4 separate regions of the Homo sapiens genome follow, and all the other regions are linked to region 1. The links are contacts of gene promoters, found by promoter capture Hi-C in blood cells and fetal thymus (Javierre and others, 2016). All regions are on one chromosome and are shown on one strand. Each heading gives the region's core, a stretch centred on a gene start or on the middle of the fragment in contact. The rest is flanking DNA. Distances are from core to core; before and after follow the strand shown.

What was found. The method cuts DNA at HindIII sites, captures the fragments that hold promoters and counts their contacts. A CHiCAGO score of 5 or more calls a contact.
Region 2: a fragment that was not itself captured here is called in contact with the fragment with the promoter of UBE2V1 in region 1 in 3 of 17 cell types (monocytes, neutrophils and naive CD8 T cells); the score reaches 6.9 in monocytes.
Region 3: a fragment that was not itself captured here is called in contact with the fragment with the promoter of UBE2V1 in region 1 in 1 of 17 cell types (monocytes); the score reaches 5.5 in monocytes.
Region 4: a contact is called between a fragment that was not itself captured here and the fragment with the promoter of UBE2V1 in region 1, in 3 of 17 cell types (total CD8 T cells, M0 macrophages and total CD4 T cells). The highest score is 5.9, in total CD8 T cells.

Annotation. Positions count from the first base shown.
Region 1 is chr20:50,111,837-50,114,730 of GRCh38, forward strand. It overlaps UBE2V1 (ubiquitin conjugating enzyme E2 V1), which reads right to left and starts at 1,314. Exons shown (of 4, transcript NM_001032288.3): 1 at 1,271-1,314. The coding sequence starts at 1,292. The region is part of intron 5 of PEDS1-UBE2V1 (PEDS1-UBE2V1 readthrough); the gene reads right to left. RefSeq lists a silencer at 842-1,381 and enhancers at 1,552-1,661, 1,666-2,233. The HindIII fragment of the contact is 8,664 bases long and covers 1-2,894 here.
Region 2 is chr20:50,494,536-50,497,432 of GRCh38, forward strand. No RefSeq gene overlaps it. Among named protein-coding and RNA genes, the nearest start is that of PTPN1, 14 kb to the right of the region's middle. The HindIII fragment of the contact is 8,989 bases long and covers 1-2,897 here.
Region 3 is chr20:50,548,915-50,551,624 of GRCh38, forward strand. All of the region lies in intron 1 of PTPN1 (protein tyrosine phosphatase non-receptor type 1), which reads left to right. Among named protein-coding and RNA genes, the nearest start is that of MIR645, 36 kb to the right of the region's middle. The HindIII fragment of the contact is 919 bases long and covers 819-1,737 here.
Region 4 is chr20:50,462,050-50,464,855 of GRCh38, forward strand. No RefSeq gene overlaps it. Among named protein-coding and RNA genes, the nearest start is that of PTPN1, 47 kb to the right of the region's middle. The HindIII fragment of the contact is 1,375 bases long and covers 655-2,029 here.

The DNA.
Region 1 (2,894 bases), core at 64-2,563:
GATTGCTGTACTCAGGCTGGTGTCCCTGCAGCCCCACAGTGGGGAACACTGTGGCCCTGTTTGCTTCCTCCATCAGAGAGGTAACCCATTTTCACCCCATCTGAGAGAACCTCCTTGGCCAACTTCACTGCCAGGCACCTGAGGGTGCAGCCTCACCCAAGAGTTCCCATTTCATCTATTCACCTCCCTACTCCCATCAGCCAGTGGGGAACTTCTGAGCTGAACCCACATATCTGTCCCAATTATTAAAGGAGTCGATGAGAGTGAGCGTCTCCACAGAAGAGACACTTCTAGGATATGCTTCCCTCACTCAATTCAAAAAGAGGAGACTTTTCTCCTTTACAGGAAACATCTCCGGAACCCGACCTTTTCCACTCCCTCATTTCAGGGGCTTCCCTCAGTTGAATCCCCACTCCCAAAGAGACATCCTCGGGGCTCCCAATTCATCTGTTCTCCCTCATCCAATATCAGAGGCTTCCACCAACTGCCCCACTCGGACCTTGTCCCCTGAAACCTAACTTGAAGCAATCCATCTGTATCCTCGAACAGGAGACTGGTAATGATGGGGTCATTTCACTATCACCGCTATTAGGTCCCTCTGGCATCTGAATCCTTTTCCCTCCTCTCACTTATCATGCGGAGACCCCCTTCATTCTCCCCAAAAGCAGCTGCTCCAAGGCTCCTCCTTTCTAGTCAACATAGCTATTTCCTCAGCTAACCCCATCTCTAAAACTAACGCCGGAGCCGTTCCCTCAACCGATAGGGGATCCTCTCAAGTCACCCCCTCAGGATCCCGTTTCTTCCATCCAGCCTGAAGGGCTTCTCTGATGTCCCCTCCAGACATCCCAAGGCCCCTCTCAGCCGCACCCCTGGCACCCAGTATGGGACTTCCATCCGCTGTGGGGCGCCTCCTCTAGGGGACCTCTAGATCGCCCCTTAAGAGTCGCCAGCCCCGGTATCCTCAGGAGTGCCTCGGAGCTCGCTCCTCGCCCACTCCGGCTCCCCCAGACAGCACAGAGGGCCCTCACGCCTCCCGGGGGAGCCTCAGGGCCTCGCCGCGCCGCCCACAGGCCCCTCAGCCCCCCGCCCGTGCTTCCGGCCACCGCCTGCTCCTCCTCCCCCGGTCAGGCCGCGCCGGTGGCTGCCGCGGAGCCCAGCAGACAGAGGCGGCGCGGGGACCCTGGCTCCGCTGCAGGAGGCTTTGAGGGTCCCCGGCCCCCGGCCCAAGCCCATGCCCCCTCGGCCGGCCGGGCCCGGCGCCCCCGCTCACCCGAGCCCGTGGTGGCTGCCATCTTGCGTCGCTCTTGCTTGAAGGCCGGCCCCTTCTTCACCCCCCCCTTACCCGTCCCCCGGCCCTGATGCGCAGGCGCGCGCGCACGCACATACGCCGCCGCTGACGCCCGCCCCGGAGACCTGCACGACCCGTGGCCTGGAAGGCTCTTTTCCTTCCCTTTTAGAGAAAGGAAATATCTGCGTGCTCGAGGGCCCAGCAACCTGCAAGTCCCCACACATCGGGTGCGAGGGAGGTTGTGATGTGCTTAGTGAGAAGGGCAGGGGTGACTAGGCTTGGGAAGGCGCGATTGTGAAAGAAAAAGAAAATATAGCTTCAAACAAAAGCGCCGAATTCGCTTGGGGCTTTTTCCTGTCTAGTTCCTATCTAGATCCTCACCACATCTCCGCAAGGTCAGAATTAATGTGAAAAATGCAGCCGAGAGAGATCAAGCGATTTATCTAAACTCAGCTGTTAAGTGGCAGAGACAGGCAGAATTTTAACCTCCAGGTTCAAATTTTTTGAATCATCACCCTCCAGGTCAGATGATCTGGCTCCTAGGATTGATGCTCCCCGGCCAGAGAAGGCTTGGAGTGGGTGCAGCTAAATGATTTAGGGGCATTAAGGTGGCAGGGAAAGCATTTGCTAACCATCTACCCAATTCATTCATTCATTCATTCATTCATTCGTTCATTCATTCATTCAACCAAACAAACAAACATTAAGCACCTACTATGTACCAGACACTGTGCTAGGCGCTGGGGATGGATAGACATCTCTGAAGAAGCAAATCCCTGCTTTCAGGGACTTACATTCTAGTCGTAGACAGCAAGTAAATAAACAGGAAACTATAATTCTGATAGGGTAGAGATAAACCAAGACAAGAGCAGCAGAGGATGGTCAGGAAGGGCCTCCTAAGGTGGTCATATTTCAGCAGAGACCGTAACAATGAGGAGGTAGAGGGAACAGCTTGTGCAAAGGCCCTTGGGAAATATTTTTGCAAATAAATAAACCCAAGAAGGTACTCCTCCTTTATTATAAATTGTCTGAGAAGCCCTTATATGGATGTAGACACTGAGGCTGAGAGAGGTGAAGGGACTGGCTTAAGGTCACAGAGCAAAATACTGGCAGAAGGACCAGGACTCTAAACATAGAGGGACAAGGAAGCTGGAAGCCCTCACCCAGCACATCCAATTCATCACCTTTGTCTGATAGCAGTGCCTACTCTGCATCTCTCCACTCCGTTCACTTCTCCACTCAGGGCAAGCTGCCTTTATCTCCCACTTGGAAGACCCCAGCAGCTTCCATTCTCTCCCCTATGGCCCATTCTCCATATAGACCAACATCTGCTCAAAACACCCTCCAGCTAAAGCCTTCAGTGGCTCCCCATTCCCTCTGGATAAAATACAAACTTTACAAGTTGAGCGACCATAGAATTATCACCTAATGAGGACACACATCAGATTAAAAGGGGACTTATTATAATCTCACCAGGACAAGTGGAAACCAGGGCTCTCCAGGGCAAAGCAGGATGCCTGGACACCCTGTGCACCAGGCTCTGCACCCAGGGCAGGGACGAGGATGGGGTGGTCAGATTTAACGGGGCTTTCACTCAGGTCCTGAC
Region 2 (2,897 bases), core at 114-2,613, 380 kb after region 1:
AGACGTGCTCTCTTTCCCCTTCTCCTTGACGCCCACGGTAGAATGGGCATAAGGATGGGCTGCCATTCTGCTGAAATGGCTCCACAGCGAGCCGTGAAGGAAGGTGGCTGACCCCAACTGCTGAATGACCTTTGAACTTAGGCCAAGAGACTCAGAGCACCCCTAACATCATCCTGTTGCACATGTAAAGTGCCTAGCACAAAGCAGGTGTGTAATGGGGGGGGAGGTGCTAGATGGAGATGCAATATTTTTGATATCTTGAGGACTAAAAGTCGGGATGATCTGCTCTTTCAAATATGCCAGAAATTTTTGGATTCATAATCAGTTGAATAATTGATTTCTATTTGAAGCCTTTTAGTTAGACAAAAGGAAAAGTGATAAGTCTGCCATCTTCATCTGAGTTCCTCCAGAAGCCAACTCTGAGACAAGGATTTAAATGCAAGTAATTTATTCCTGAGGAGATCCTTGGAGGCAGCAGGTGAGGAGTGGGGAAGTGACCACGAAGTTTCTGATTTAGGACAGTGGTGAAAAGTTGATGCAGGTGGCTTCTAAAAGATCTTGACTTCCAAGGCAACTAGGGCTCTGGGGAAGGAATATGGCTGAACTTCAGACCCATAGGGCTACAGGAAGATAGAGACAGAAGACAAAGACCATGTACCAGTTAGCATGCTCTCAACTGCAAGTAGCAAGCCAATCCAAAGTGGCTTAAACAGTAAAAATGCTCCTGATGTCTTCAAATAATGTCTTCAAATAATGTCTGGGAAGGGACATGAATGAGCATGTGGGCCAGTGGGGCTCAAACCCACCCATGTAAGGGCCATGCCTCCACATTGCCATACCTGAGAAGCAAGGAGCTGGGGTATTTATCTCTTTCGCACTTTGGGAGGCTGAGCGGGCGAATCACCTGAGGTCAGGAGTTCAAGACCAGCCTGGCCAACATGGTGAACCCTGTCTCTACTAAAAATACAAAAAGTTAGCTGGGCGTAGTGGCACATGCCTGTAATCCCAGCTACTTGGGAGGCTGAGGCAGGAGAATCACTTGATCCCAGGAAACAGAGCTTGCAAAGAGCCAAGATTGTGCCACTCCAGCCTGGGCAACAGAGTGAGACTCTGTCACCAAAAAAAAAAAAAAAAAAAAAATTGATAAAAAGAGAAAGAGAGAGACAGAGACCTCAGAAAGACAGAGTGAAAGGGAGGGGTTAGAATAAAGGGAGGATGAAGATCGAGATGAAGTGACAGAGAGACCTAAGAACTTGTGAAAATGTGCTTACCAAAATGTGAGCAGTGGCCAGGCGCGGTGGCTCACGCCTGTCATCCCAGCACTTTGGGAGGCCGAGGTGGGCAGATCACAAGGTCAGGAGATCGAGACCGTCCTGGCTAACACGGCGAAACCCCGTCTCTACTAAAAATACAAAAAAAAAATTAGCCGGGCATGGTGGCGGGCGCCTGTAGTCCCAGCTACTCGGTAGGCTGAGGCAGGAGAATGGCGTGAACCCGTGAGGCAGAGCTTGCAGTGAGCCGAGATCGCACCACTGCACTCCAGCCTGAGGGACAGAGTGAGACTCCGTCTCAAACAAAAACAAAACAAAACAAAAAACACACACACAACACGTGAGCAGTGACCAGCACAGGTAGTAAGAGTTAAAAGTAAGTTGTGGGCCAGGCGCAGTGGCTCACGCCTGTAATCCCAGCACTTTGCGAGGCCGAGACAGGCAGATCATCTGAGGTCGGGATTTCGAGACCAGCCTGACCAACATGGAGAAACCCTGTCTCTACTAAAAATACAAAATTATCCAGGCATGGTGGTGCGTGCCTGTAATCCCAGCTGCTAGGGAGGCTGAGGCAGGAGAATTGCTTGAACCTGGGAGGCAGAGGTTGCGGTGAGCCAAGATCGCTCCATTGCACTCCAGCCTGGGTAGCAAGAGTGAAACTCCGTTTAAAAAAAAAAAAAAAAAGTAAGTTGTGTCTCTTTTATATGCACTTTTCAAGTTTTCTTCATTAAATGAGTATTCCTTTTGTGATAAGAAAAAGAAATAAGAACAACAAAAATGTCCTACCTCCAATGCTAGAACTTCCAGCTCTGCGTGTGAAAACACCCACTTTAAATTGCTTCTCTCTTTAGTTCAACCATGTTTCTTGAAATGGTTTGAATACAGGCAGAGTTTCCTTCTCTCCCTCCTTCCTTCTTTTTCCTTTTTTTTAAAGGAGACCAAAGTCAGAGTTGCCTCAGTGCTGACCCAACATTGAGGCTGAAAGTGGGTACAATAAGGGTAATTTAAGAAGGCAGGGATTAACAGCTGCTTTGGAAATGACAATTGGGTTAACCTCTTCTTCATTCTCACTCTCTCTCTCTCTCTCTCTGCAAGAACCATCTTGCCCTAGAGGAATGCAGGAAGGCAGTGGGGAGGGAAAATGACTCTGTTTAGGGAGGTGATAAAATGGGATGTGATGATTAATTCTTCATATATTTATTTGACAAGCATTCAGGGAGCACCTCTTCTCGCCCAGGTCCTGGGCTAGGCCCTGGGGACATAGCAAGATGAATACTACAGGATCCACGACTGTGAGGGCTGAGAGAGACACACGTGCAGATTGCTAAGACCAATATGAGAGGATCATTCCATACCCAAACACAGAGTTGCATGAAGGCCGAGGTTCTGCTTTCACCCCACCAGATACCAATTTCGCTCCTGAAATGAAGAAGTAAGGAGTGACCAGAGAGAATCTTATTTAGCAGGCAGTGATGATAAGTTAATACAGGTAGTTTCCAAAAGATCTTGACTTCCAAACAACTGGTGCTCTGGGGAAGGAATGTGTCTAAACATGAGACCCATAGGGCTAAAGGAAGGTAGAGACAGAAGACAAAGACCCTGTATCAGTTAGCATGCTCTCAGCTG
Region 3 (2,710 bases), core at 28-2,527, 440 kb after region 1:
ACCCTGTTGGCCAGGCTGGTCTTGAACTTGTGACCTGAAGTGATCCGCCCGCCTTGGCCTCCCAAAGTGCTGGGATTACAGGCATGAGCCACCACGCTTGGCCCAAGTATGTTTATTTTTAAAGTCCCCAACAAGCTATACAATAAATTGCATATGGAATGGATTTTTGTTCTAGTTGATTTGTTGGTTATCATTTGTAGAACTAACTAGTTGTCTTCTGTGTTTGATACCTTGCTTCTAGGTCATTTTGAGTTGGGAGCCTTTTGTTTTGTTTTTATTCTCATGCTGTTTTTGAGCCTAGCTGTGCCTTTATGGTTTTCTCTAAATTTAATTGACCATTGTTTTATATTTGGAGCAGTGGGTGTACATCAGAGTGTGAAAGCAGCCCCACCCTCTCCACCAGAAGGTCTCCATGCCAGTTTCACGAAGCATTTTTCATGCCCTCATTCCTGCCCTTATCCCTTGATTTGTGGGGAGTTTGTAAAGCAGTTGATTGTTTTTTTTCCACGTAGTTTTCCAAGTGCACATAATTGTTCTGTTAGTGACTTGTAGCTCCATTATCTATTAACCTTGCCCCAGACCACTGTACAAGCGGACCCAACGCTTCCTCCAGCTGTGGCAGGGACAGTTACTTGGTATCCTGCTGCCTTTTCAATGCTGACCAGTTTTGCCCCTTCCTCCCCTCAACCCCTGTCTTTCATTCAACTATCACCAAACCAAAAGATTCTGGTTTGCTTTTTAGTATGTGTTCTTATTCAGTACATAGTCATTTTAAAATTTAAACCAAAACAGACTTGGTACTGATTAGCTTAATTTTAAGCTTTTTCTTTATTATTAAACAGTGTAGTTTATCTTAGCATTTCATATTAAGTATATGATTTATTTCATATTGCTTATATGAATGTACACATAAATATAATAAAAATATTTTCCTAAGGTTTTTGTAGTAAATTATATCGTTTCATTAACTTTCATATATAGCATTGCTTTTGACCTGGAAGACATTGAACCTCTGATGATTTGTATATTCCTCGGAGTATACTTTGTTACATAGAAATTTTCTCATTTATAATGAGATTTGTGATTAACAAAATTTGTTCAACATGCATTACTTTGAAGATCTGGTTTCTAAAATTTTATGCTAGTTACCCCACCCCCCCTTCTATATATATCTCCCTATTCAGCGACTACTGCAAGAGTTCCAGGAAATGTACACTGTGTGTTCACTTACTGCATTTTAAATCATTGCCTTTACTATATTTCTGCATTTCCCTTCAATCTAGCTCTGTCTGTACATTTCTGAAAGCCAGTAGCTTCCCTGAAGAACCAGGTAACAACCCGAACAATCAAATTAGATAACCATTTGTAGAATGGAGGTTCCGGGAGATCTTAGAAGATGTGATGGGTGCTAAGGGACTTTGTAGTTCCCTGAAGTTCCAGTGAGTAAAAGGTACCCTTGGAATTTTTTATTCCTTCAGACTTTTAAAACAGAGATCACTTTCAAAAATTACTCTTTCTGCTTTGAATCCATGTTTTAGTAACTATTTTGACACTGTTTGGTCAGAAGGCTGTGTGGGTCAACTGCAAATAAATAAAATAAATGTGATTTCAGTAATTTCCATTTTGTAACAAGTAATTGAGAAAATAGGATTGGATCAGATATTTGCTTATACACATTCCCTTTCAGGAGCACTTCTGTTCTATAAAGAATGTTGGTATATTGTTAAGGACACTTCAAGCTTTGGGAACCTTTGAAGTATCCATTGATTCAGTTAACAAAATTATGTTGAGTGCCTACCCTGGGCCTGGGCCTGTGTTAGGAGGGGACACTAAGATGAGAGTCCAAAGCACTTCTTCTCAGACTCCTGGCTGCTAATGGGTTGCTGCCTCTACTTCTTCACTTAGCAGATAGCTTTAAAATGAGTAATGCATTTTACCATGGAGCCCGTAAGAGACATTCACCCAGTTGTGGACCGAGGAGAAGGGTGTTAAACCCAGATTGTGATGTTTCACTTGATGAAGTGCTTAATATAAACATGGAAATATTTCCGCAAGGATAAACTGGCTTTTATGCCTGTGTGTTTTCAGGAGAAATAGAAATCTCTAATCAAATATTGCCAGCTTTTCACCCAAGTTTGACTTTTTGCCTAATTGAGTTTGGGAGGTGTCTGAATAATGGATAATGAGCTTTCCTGAATAAATATAAAAATTAATTAACTCCAGGCTCTAATTCATTCTGTTACCAGAGTTTTGTAAGCATGTTACCCCTTTGTGTTCATTGGGAGATCATCTGTTACCTTCTTAAATGAGTGGGGAAGGATGGGAAATGAGGAAGAGCTATAAAAACTATTCAGGTGAAGAAGGTTTCTGCCCCTCCTTGCCCCTTTTAAAATCTCCAGCTCAGCAGATGCTTTGTTTAAACTTGATCAAGTGCTTGTGAATCTTCCTAGCCTAGCTAAATCATAACTTTGGAAGGACTTGCTTTTTTCTCTCATGACAATGGTTTACCACAGAAATGATTCAGATCACTTTGTGTGCCTGATGCCTATGTAAAATGATACAGTGAAATGGAAACCATTTACCTGTAAGCTTTGGGCACACCCAAGCCTGCTTCAGGAGCACATGATCAGGCGTGCACTCTGGGAGAGCCGTACACATTTGACATCTATGATGTGTGGCGTTTTATTCTATCACATTTCTGAAATCTACA
Region 4 (2,806 bases), core at 92-2,591, 350 kb after region 1:
TAAACAGTCTTTGAACGTATTTTTTAAATGTCCAATCTAACATATAAACAATGAATATGTAGATTAGAACTATGGTGAACACCTTTTTCCCCTATCGGCAAGGCCAAGATCAAGAAGTCCAATCATACTTGGCCTTGGCTAGGACGTGGGGAAACCAGAGCTCACGGAGGTTGCCGGTGCAAATGACGATTGGTAGGTACAACCTTAGAGAGCATTTAGACAACCAGCGTCAAAATGTTTAAACGCACCTGCCCTATGACTGGGCGATTCAGTTGCTAAGAATGTATCCATCAGAAATAGCTCTGAATACATGGAAAGACTTCTGTGAAAGGGATACTAATTGCAGCATTGTTTGTTGCAGAAAAACCCTGGAAATACCTCCGTGACTATCACCAGAAAACTTGTTAGATAAATTATTATATTCAGACAATGGAATGTGCAAAGAATGCTCTCCTAGTGCTGATCTGGAAAGATCTGCCAAGGTACATTGCTAAGTTGAAAAAAACAAAATCCCAGTGCAGAACAGGGTGTGTGGTGTGCTTCTATTTAGAGAAATGAGTACAGGAATCCACGCACATATTTGCTTATCTGTGTTCTGGATGTCTCTGTAATGATCCCCAAGAAATGATAACCAGAATGGATTCTGGGGAGGGAAGCTTGGAGTTTTAAAGCTGGGGATGGGGGTTAAGGATTAGAGGGAGAAGACCCACTGTAAATCTTTTGGTATCTTTTGAATTTTTGCATATGAATACAATCCCTTGTTAGTTTTTAAAAATGGAACTTTTTAATGCATTGATAGATGACAGAGAGAAAAATGCCTTGAAGGATATGCTCCAACGTGTCAATAGCACTTATCTCTGGGTGGCTGATGTGAATTAGAAGCGACTTTTATTTTGTTCTTTTTTTATTATTTCTCTAATCAATTATTTATTTTGAGACAAGATCTTGCTCTATCACCCAGGCTGGAGTGCAGTGATGCGATCACCACTCATTGAAACCTCTGCCTCCTGGGCTTAAGTGATCCTCCCAGCTTAGCCTCCTGAGTGGCTGGGACTATAGGCACTTGCCACCATGCCTGGCTGATTTTTTATTTTTAATTAAATTTTTTTTTGTAAAGACGAAGTCTCACTAAGTTGCCCAAGCTGGTTTTGAACTCCTGGGCTCAAACGATCCCTCTGTTTCAGCTTCCCAAAGTGCTAGGATTACAGGTGTGAGCCACTGTGCCCGGTCTGTTCTTTTTAAAAAATACAGAGACAGGGTCTCACTTTGTCACCTAGGCTAGAGTACAGTGGCATAATCATAGCACCCTGCAGCCTTGATCTTCTAGGCTCAAGTGATCCTCCAGCTTCAGCCTCCCAAGTAGCTGGGACCACAGGCATGCACCACCACTTCTGGCTATATTTTGTTCTTTTTACTTAGATTTTCTAATTTAAAAAAATAATTACCAGCCGGGTGTGGTGGCCCATGCCTGTAAATCCTAGCACTCTAGGAGGCCGAGGCAGGAGGATCATTTGAGCCCAGGAGTTTGAGACCAGCCTGGGCAACATAGTGAAACCGCGTCTTTACTAAAAATACAAAAAAAAAAAAAAATTAGCTGGGTGTGGTGGTGCTCACCTGTAGTCCCAGCTACTCAGAAGGCTGAGGCAGGAGAATCACTTGAACCTGGGAGGCAGAGGTTACAGTGAGCCCAGATCACACCACTGCACTCCAGCCTGGGCAACAGAGCGAGACTCCGTCTTAAAATAAAATAAAATAAAATAAAATAAATAATTATCAAGGTATATTCAGATAATTTTTTTAAAAATTAAGTAAGTAAACACCTCAGTGTTCTCTTGGTAGTCAGGGGAAAACTAACTTCTACATGAAAAAAAGAAAAGACCAAAAACACATACACTTCTCTAAACAGGCAGATTATTTTCATTGCCAAGGACATTACAGAGACTGAGGAGTGGGTTGGAAATATATTCTATGAAAAATCGAGAATTAATACAACTGTCCTACCATGCACTTTCTGGGCATCAAAACGCCAAGCTTCTAACTCAGACCTGAGTTCAAACTCTGACTGCCACTTACTAGCTGGGCAAGTTGCTCCTACGCCGTTGGCCTCAGTTTCCTCATCTGTAGTCTGAGACCACATTGCTGCTGGCAGGCTCGAGTGAGATCATGCCTGTGAAGTACTTGGCTCAGGCGTACTCAGAGACCCAGTTCAAACAGGGAACAGGCAGAAATTCTGCACCCCGCAAGGGTGACAGGGCGGAGGGAGGACAGGAGGGGCCGCTTTGCCGGACTGGGGATCAGTGTGCAACTAGCTGGGCCCGGAGTCCCCCACAAACCGGCCAGCTCAGAGGTTCTTCCGACAGTTTGGAGAGAGTGACACCAAGTGGCCAAGTCTGAAACTACACCTTCAAGCCGGAGGGTTAGAGCCTCTCCCCGACCCCTCCAGCTGCGGTCCTGAGCCAGGCACTGAACTTCCCTGAATCTGAGTTTTTTCAGCTGCGAAATGGAGGTAATCCTGCCTACCTGGCAGAGCGGAGGTGGGAATTAAATGAGGTAACCCGCAGAGATTCTCTCCAGGACCGCCATGTTGCACAACTTCAGGGGCCCCATTCATGAAACTGTGCAACATAGCGGCACCCCTAACAGGTGGCTGTCATTATCATCCCTCCCTCAGACACTGAGTTTCCTTCTCTACTCCCCTAGAGCGATTCTGAAGCTGGGTCTTCCAAAGTATAGAACAAATACCAGTGGGATTCGTGGGGAGATCTTGGTGGGCACAGCACCCCAGTATCAAATAACATTTCATTCT